2 separate regions of the Homo sapiens genome follow, and region 2 is linked to region 1. The links are contacts of gene promoters, found by promoter capture Hi-C in blood cells and fetal thymus (Javierre and others, 2016). All regions are on one chromosome and are shown on one strand. Each heading gives the region's core, a stretch centred on a gene start or on the middle of the fragment in contact. The rest is flanking DNA. Distances are from core to core; before and after follow the strand shown. Region 1 holds the start of NELL1 (neural EGFL like 1). Region 2 overlaps NELL1 (neural EGFL like 1).

Evidence for each region. Contacts are between HindIII fragments. The CHiCAGO score rates a contact against its expected background, and 5 or more counts as called.
Region 2: a contact is called between a fragment that was not itself captured here and the fragment with the promoter of NELL1 in region 1, in 1 of 17 cell types (M2 macrophages). The highest score is 6.1, in M2 macrophages.

What each region holds. Positions count from the first base shown.
Region 1 is chr11:20,667,391-20,671,084 of GRCh38, forward strand. NELL1 (neural EGFL like 1) reads left to right here and starts at 2,196. Exons shown (of 20, transcript NM_006157.5): 1 at 2,196-2,388. The coding sequence starts at 2,334. The HindIII fragment of the contact is 10,998 bases long and covers 1-3,694 here.
Region 2 is chr11:21,518,574-21,522,735 of GRCh38, forward strand. All of the region lies in intron 15 of NELL1 (neural EGFL like 1), which reads left to right. Among named protein-coding and RNA genes, the nearest start is that of NELL1-AS1, 260 kb to the left of the region's middle. The HindIII fragment of the contact is 2,055 bases long and covers 743-2,797 here.

The DNA.
Region 1 (3,694 bases), core at 946-3,445:
ACTGTTAATGGATGTTATGCTGCAAAGCTATGACAGAACATATGTCTTGCTTTATTTTTTAATGGAACAAGCTAAAAGTCCCATCCCACAGGACCAGCTAATTACACAGAGACTTTAAAGATAGAGAGCTCTGAAGATCTTACCCAGACCACCTTTTCCCCTTGCTGGGGTCACTGTACTTTTAAGGATTCTGGGCTTTCTGAAATCAATAAAAGGGCCTTGGAAACAACAGTCCAAAGCAACTCAAGGCTGTTCCTGCTGAGGTGTACTTAAAGACTGCAGAGGAGAGACAGGAAATGGCTCTTATAATACAACATGGTGTATGGTGTCCTTGTCCACAAGGCCCAACAAGACTTGGGAAATCCTATTCTCTTCAAGATGTGTGATTTTAATGTTAGCTTTAAATGCAACACGCTCCGGGTGGAAGGAAAAACACGTGGACTCTGTTAGTGAAAATACAGAGTCAAGGCAGACAGATTTCCTTTGGGTCTTAGCCGAATCTGAGTTGGAGTCAGCTGACATCAGTTTACCTCTTAATCATTCAGCTCAACTTCTGGATTGTGCAGTAGACTTCTTGAGCTGGAATTTACCTGCTTGTTCACTTTCTTTTTCATCTGCCAAAGGACCACAACATAAAGGGCCAAATGGGACAGTGGCTTGCACACAGAAATATCCAGAAAAATAGGGCAGAGACCAGAACAGCATGCTAGTAAAGCCTTCTCTCTTAATAAGCTGCGCTGATTTGGTGAACTTCACTGGGGCTCCTGGGGTCAAAGTTGTGTAGGGGTTAAGGATATAGGAAGTGAAAGTGGGTGCAAGTGAGAAGGGCACGTTCTTATTAGTGAAGAGGATTCTGAAACGTTGGAATTGGTTTCCAGGAAACGAGGGACGGCTGTTCTGAGGTTTCCTTGGACTCCTCTGGGATCCCTGTTGTGAATATCAAAGGAGTACTGCTGGTGAGGGGGAGCGGGGGCTTCAGAGAGAGTGGGAAGACTGAGCAAGCTAAGTGGAGTTCATTTGGTATAAATCAGAGGCTGTCATTTCAGATTTCATGACTCTACATATCCAGTTATAAATAACGTTCCTAGGTGTTAGTAGGACAAATAGGAAGTGGGACAGAAGTCTTAAATTTGGGGGATCTTCATAGGGAAGGTCAGGTCCTGAAAGGGTCGCATAGAGGGGAGAGGACCCATTCTCTTCTTGCCGGCAAGTAGAAAACAAAGCCCAGCCCAGCTTTTCTCTCCAGAGAATGTTGTGGTGGGAGAGGGAAAAGAAGGTGGAGGTCCCGGAGGAATTGCACATGGGGCCAAAATGTGACTATGAAAGAAGAGTGGGCTTTTGATAATACCATTAAGAAAATCACGCAAGAAAGAAAAAAAGATGGTTAGGAATTACCCCTATGTGGCAGCATCTGCCCTGCAGAATGAGAAGGTTTGCAAATAGACTTCCCAAACCCCAACCACAGCTCGCTCCGCCTCGAGGACCCCTTTTCTGCACCCCCACCTCAGCGCCCTCTTCCTGCACCCACAAAGAGAGTACTCAGTCATAGGGGTTCAACAGGAGAGAGGAGACAGAAGGTACAGGCGGTGAGCAGGGACTCAGCCATCATCCCCCTCAGGTCCCTCCCCACCCAGTTGACAGAGCGAATCCCGAGTAATTGTTTTCCGAGGGGGTCCGTGCGCGCTCGGTGGCGCCGCCTCGGTCTGGGTTCCCCCGAGGAAAAATACCCACCCGCGAGGGCTCGGCGGCTTTTCGACTCGGCGGGGATGAACTGTGGCAACTTCGGCAGCCCCCACCGCGGTGCGGAAGTAAAGAGGGCAACATTGGCGACTGCGGCTCGGAGGGGCTGGAGCGCGTGAAGCCGTGGGGGCGCCGTGCGCCTCCCGCTCTCTCGTTTCGGCCGCAGGTCCTGGGACTCCGACTTCGGTGCTCCGGGTGATAGCGGCTGCGGCGCCTGCAGTCCAGATCCTCGCAGTTCTGCGGGCGAAGGAGGCGAACGGAATCGGCCCCCAGTGGGGAGCGCAACAAGCCACAGTAGCCAAACCCCGCGCTCCTGCCCGGGCTCCCAGACGAACGCAGCCGCAGCGGGGGGCCGGGCCCCGAGCCCCACGCCGCCGCCGCCGCGCCAGCGGTGGGGGGCGGGCTGGGGGCGGGGCGGCCGGGGCTGCCTTCCCGGGCGCATATGCGAGCGCAGCACCCGGCGCTGCCGAGCCACCTCCCCCGCCGCCCGCTAGCAAGTTTGGCGGCTCCAAGCCAGGCGCGCCTCAGGATCCAGGCTCATTTGCTTCCACCTAGCTTCGGTGCCCCCTGCTAGGCGGGGACCCTCGAGAGCGATGCCGATGGATTTGATTTTAGTTGTGTGGTTCTGTGTGTGCACTGCCAGGACAGGTAAGCATGACTGTGGCGGTTAGAGGGATCCGGGAAATGGGGGTGCCCACAGACCACGGCGGCGTGGGGAGACCTGGAGCCGAGCTTTGCGCTGGTCTGGGGAACGGCGGTAGCGTGGACCGGTTCCTGGGATCTCTTTGCCCTGCTCGGAGTGACAGGGTGAAAATAGGGACTCACGGGCTTGAAGATGTCCCCGTTGAGTGCCCCTTCTCAGGGGACCCGGCCTCAGGGGCGCAGGAGTGAGGGGCGCGGCCGAGTAGGCGCACCCTCTTGCTGCTAGTAACCGGCTTTCCGTCCCAGGGAGTCGAAACCCGCAGCAGGGCGGGCCCGCGTGCCCCGAGTTCCCGAACTTGTAAGGTGCTGTGGAAACCACTCTCGCCGACCCCCGCCAGGCTGGGAAGGGGTAGCTGCGGGAGTCGCACCCGCAGAGGGAGCGCTTCCGGCTGGCGGGCGCGGCCGGGGCCCGGGAGGGCGCGGTGCGGCGAGGGCAGAGAGCTGCGGGAGAACCCTGGGATCCCGCGATCTCCTCCTGTGCCTTCCTGACTACCCAGGAGAACTCCAGGAGTATTCTCCTCCGCCTGTCTTTGCTCCCAAGGGCTGGGCGAACAATTATCTGAGGGAAATAGAGCAGTGGAGACAATCTGGGGAAATTTTCTCAAGCTCAAACCAGTTTTCTCTTGCCATAATCGCAGGGTTCCGTGTGGGGAGGGGGGAGCAAGGATGACGCTTGATTGTCTGAAGTCCCCACTTCGTTCTGCCTCCGGAGACGCAGTTGTGAGGACTCTCAGCGCATCTTCTTCCTTCTGCTTCCACCGGCTCCCTTGCCCAAAAGTCCCCTGGGGTTCGGAGACTGGCTTGCAGCCGCCTTCTTCAAAGAGCTAGTAGTAGATGCGGGGAGACTGGGGTGAGGTGAGGTGGGGTGAGATGTAGGAAATTGGCAAAAATAGGGCCTGTCAACTGGGGGGAGTGTCGGAGGTTTGCAATCCTACCCAGCCATCCTCCGTACGCGCTGCACCCCAGAATCTGTGTGGTCATTCCCTTTCCCTTTATTCTCCCCCCTTTACCATCCTTATTTCCTTCTTTAGAGGCGTGGCCTTCTCTCTAGGCCAAAGAGCAAGTTCATCTGGAGAGGGCTAAGAAGGGGCGTCTGCACTTGGTTGGCTCAAAAGTTCCCTCCGCTTGCGCCCAGGCGCCCCTCTTTGGCAGTTAGCCCGCTGGAAGATCTAGCGTCTAGGAGCTTTCAGAGGGCCCTTCCCACTTCCCCAGGACTGAGCAGGCAGCGGCTTTCGTCTGGTTAAGAATGTTG
Region 2 (4,162 bases), core at 520-3,019, 850 kb after region 1:
ATTCAGAATAGAATTCTTAAGTTCATAAAGCAACTAAGGATTAGATATAATGGCATAAGGGAAGAAGTGAAACGTAGTCCCTTTGCTCCCTGGCCACCACCAGGCTTGTAGTTTGGTGGGAGTGACAGTGTGATCTACTGAGAGGTAGAGTAGCCTCATAAAGTTTTGTATTCAGAGAAAAGCAAGCCTAAAACTTAGAATACCATGTAACTAGATATGTTGCCTTATGGAAATTATTTAATATCTTTCAGACTTGTTTCCTTTAGCTGTAAAATAGAGATAAAAATATTCCATTGGTTGAATTTATTTTGGCTGGAAGTAATAGAAATCTCAAGTAATTGTGACTTAATAATAAAGTCTTTAATTCTCTCTCATGACATGAATTCTGGCAATATGTAGCTCCAGGGTTGGTTCAGCAGCTCAATGACATCAAAGGCCTAGTTTGGTATTTCTGTGATTTAATTGGAATTTTTCCCATAAACTAAAGAAGGCTGTATCTCTCTAGTCCTCACGTTCTCCAGCCAGCTGACTACACAGAATGAACATAGTAGGAATTCTGTCATTTAACCATGAAAGTCAACCCCACTGCCACTCCATCTCCAGCAGACTTCTCCTTACTTCTCATTAGCAAGAACTTGGTCACATGCCCTTATCTAGACAGATCACTGGGAAAAAGGATGAAAATTCCATTATTATTATAGATATGTGGTTCTCAAAGTAGAGTTCTCAGATGATTCTGGCAAGCTTGTTTAAATACAGACTACTGGGTTCTACCCCCAGAATTTCTAATTTAGTATGTTGTGTGGGACCAGATAATTTTCATTTATAATATGTTTCCTGCTGATGTTAATGGTGCTAGTCTGAGGACCACTGTTTGAGAACCACTGATTGAGACCAACAGTGATTTACCCCTTGGGCTAGGAGATAGGCTTCCTTTTGTTTGTTTGTTTGTTTGTTTTGTTTTGTTTTTTGTTTTTTTTTTTAGATTAAGAGGGCAATACTCTTTATGCAAGCAAGTCAAGGTTCTTCTAATTGAAAGTGAATGTGTGGGAGGTGGAAGGTGTATCACTCAGGGTAGAGCAGAAAGACAAAATCTGTATGGTGCCTGCCCCCAGGATGAAGGATGGGGAATGTACAGCCGCTACCACTCTACTGGCTAAAATTGACTGAAACGTACCTGGAAGCCTTCCCCTGGAAGTTGCAAGCCTTCAAATAGACTCCAGAGTCCTAAAATTGTTATATCAGGCAGATTCTGCCAGTGTAATTATAGTCCAGGTTGGGAGAGAGATTCCTGGTGCTGACTCCTCTGCTATTTTCCCAGAATCCTCAGAGGTATCTTTCATACATAGTTCATAAGATGACATTGACACCTTTTTAATTTACCTTCTTGACAACAATAAATACCCATATCAATCGCTTTGGGAAAAACAACAACAACAACAACTTTGATCTGGCACTAATAGGAGAAGAGAGATATGGAAGGTGCCCTTTAGACAGAGGAGCATTCCAAAGGAAAACACACACGCTGTCAAAGTAGCATGATTTCTTCCGCCAATACATCCATCTCACAATATGCCGTAGGACTGACATAAAAAGAGGCCTAAGGGACATCTGTGGATTTTGTCTCACCAGAATTCAGTTCCTATCCTAGTAAGGGCATTCCAATAGTTTCTGAGGAACAACCCCTTCTAAATTCTCAGTTTAAGATATCTCAAGTAGTGCTGATTTTACCTCTTGCTCTAGGGGTGGGCTGGTAACCAGACATGAACCCAGTAACTACTTCAGGACTCATCATGTAACCAAATCAAGATGAATGCGGCTCAAATCCTAGATTTGTGCCAGTACTATTGATAAGAATCTCTCCCTTTGACAGATTTAAAATGATGTTTGCCTAGAACATCTGGAGGCCATTACATGAAGAGGTTCTGGCCTATAGGGGTGGTAATATGATGATGATAAGAGTGGAGATACAGAGGGAGCCTAAATCCTGATAATATTGCTTAGTTGCATGGATCCCATAGAGTCTAGAGCCCCAACACTTGTACATTTTGTGAGCCAATATGTTTCTTTTGGGAGAGGAGAGGTAAGCAGGGTTAAGGTGTCACTTACAACAGAGGGCCCAGTGTCTAAAGGTGCATCAGCACCCGCTTAAGATTCAAGTGCTCAGCCCCGGCCCCTCCCCATGCACCTGCTCCTTACCTCATGCTGACCTAATTTCTATTCTCCCAGATCTGTATTCCCTGACCACTCCTCCAACATTTGTCCTTGACTCCTTCCTTTGGTTTTGATGTGCAGAAACATTTTTTGGTCTCTCATTTGTTTCTAATTTAAAAATAAATGCATCTGGCTATCCTGCCTCAGGGCAAATTTAGAAATATTTCTTTCAGTTCAATAGAGTCCTATGGTTACCCTTATGTTGGTACTAATCCTATCTCACATACCCTATTCTGGGGGTAGGACCAGATGTAGGGTAAAAATCTATGTACCTGACTTTTACTGGTTTCTTACAGATCTAAAGTTATGGCTTTATACTTTTCTCTCTTTTGAATGTAAGTATTACAGCTACACATTTGTTTCTAGGCACTGCTTTAACTGGTTCCCACAGATTGTAGCCTGTTGTTTAATAATATCATTCAGTCCTAAATATTTTATATTTTCCTTGTAGTTTCTTCTTTAATTCATTGGCTTTTGGAACTGGTGTAATTTCCAAATATTTGTACCTTTTCTAAATATCGTATTTTGATTTGATATCTGTTTAATTCTGTTGGGACCAGAAAACACACTCTGTAAGATTTCAAGCTTTTGAATTTTGGGGGGATTGTTTTATGAACAAGGATTTTTTCCATCTTGGTCAACATTCCACACGCACTTGTAAAAACTGTTTATGCTACAGTGATTGGGTATAATGTTCAAGAAATGCCAATATTGTTCATGTCTTCTATATTGGTGATTTTTTTTGGTGTATCAATTGCTGAAATAGAGGTTAAAATCTCTAGATTTGTATTTTTTTCCTTTTGGTTCTTTTATTATCATTTCATGTGTTTTGAAGTTTTGCCATTAAAAATTATATATCAATTGCTGGATCAAATTGTAGTTTTATTTTTAGTTCTAGTGTTTTTCATAGAGGCTGTTCTAATTTACATTCCCATCAACAGTGTATAAGTGTTCCTTTTCTCTGAATCCTTGCCAACATTTGTTAATTTTTGTCTTATTAATAATAGCCATTCTGATTGGTGTAAAATGATATCTTGTGGTTTAATTTGAATTTCTCTGATGATTAATAGCCATGAGCATCTTTTCATATACTTTTGGTCATTCATATGTCTACTTTTGAAAAATGTATATTCATATCTTTTGCCTACTTATTAGTGAGATTGTTTGATTAGTTGTTGGGTTGTTTGTGTTCCTTATAAATTCCGGATATTCGTTTCCTGTCAGATCCATGGCTTGCAAATATTTTCTTCCATTCTGCAGACTGTCTCTTCACTCTGTTGTGCCCAAAGGAAAAAAGCCATTATATCAAAAAGATACCTGCCTGTAGTCCCAGCTGCTGGGGAGGCTGAGGCAGGAGAATGGCATGAACCCGGGAGGCGGAGCTTGCAGTGAGCCAAGATGGTGCCACTGCACTCCAGCCTGGGTGACAGAGAGAGACTCCGTCTCAAAAAAAAAAAAAACAAACAAACCTGCAATCATCTTTTAATTTAAGTACTATTCGCAATAATGACAATAGGGAATCAACCTAACTGTGCATCAACAGGTGATTAGATAAAGAAAATGTGTTAGATATACACAATGGAATGCTATTTAGCCGTAAAAAATGAAGTCATATCTTTTGCAGCAACATAGATGAAACTGGAGGCCATTGTCCTAAGTTAAACAAGTCAGACATAGAAAGACAAATGCCACATGTTCTCACTTGTAAGTGGGAGCTAAATAATGTGTACACATGAACGTACAATGTGAAATGATAGTAAATGGAGACTCTGAAGGTGTGCGGGGTGGGAGGGGAGGTGGATGATGAGAAATTACTTAACTGGGTACATGTACATCCCGTGATGGACACACGAGAAGCCCTGACTTCTCCACTATGTAATATTGCCAGGTAACAAAGTTATACTTGTACCCCATAAATTTATACAAAGAAAATTTTCAAATCTATATA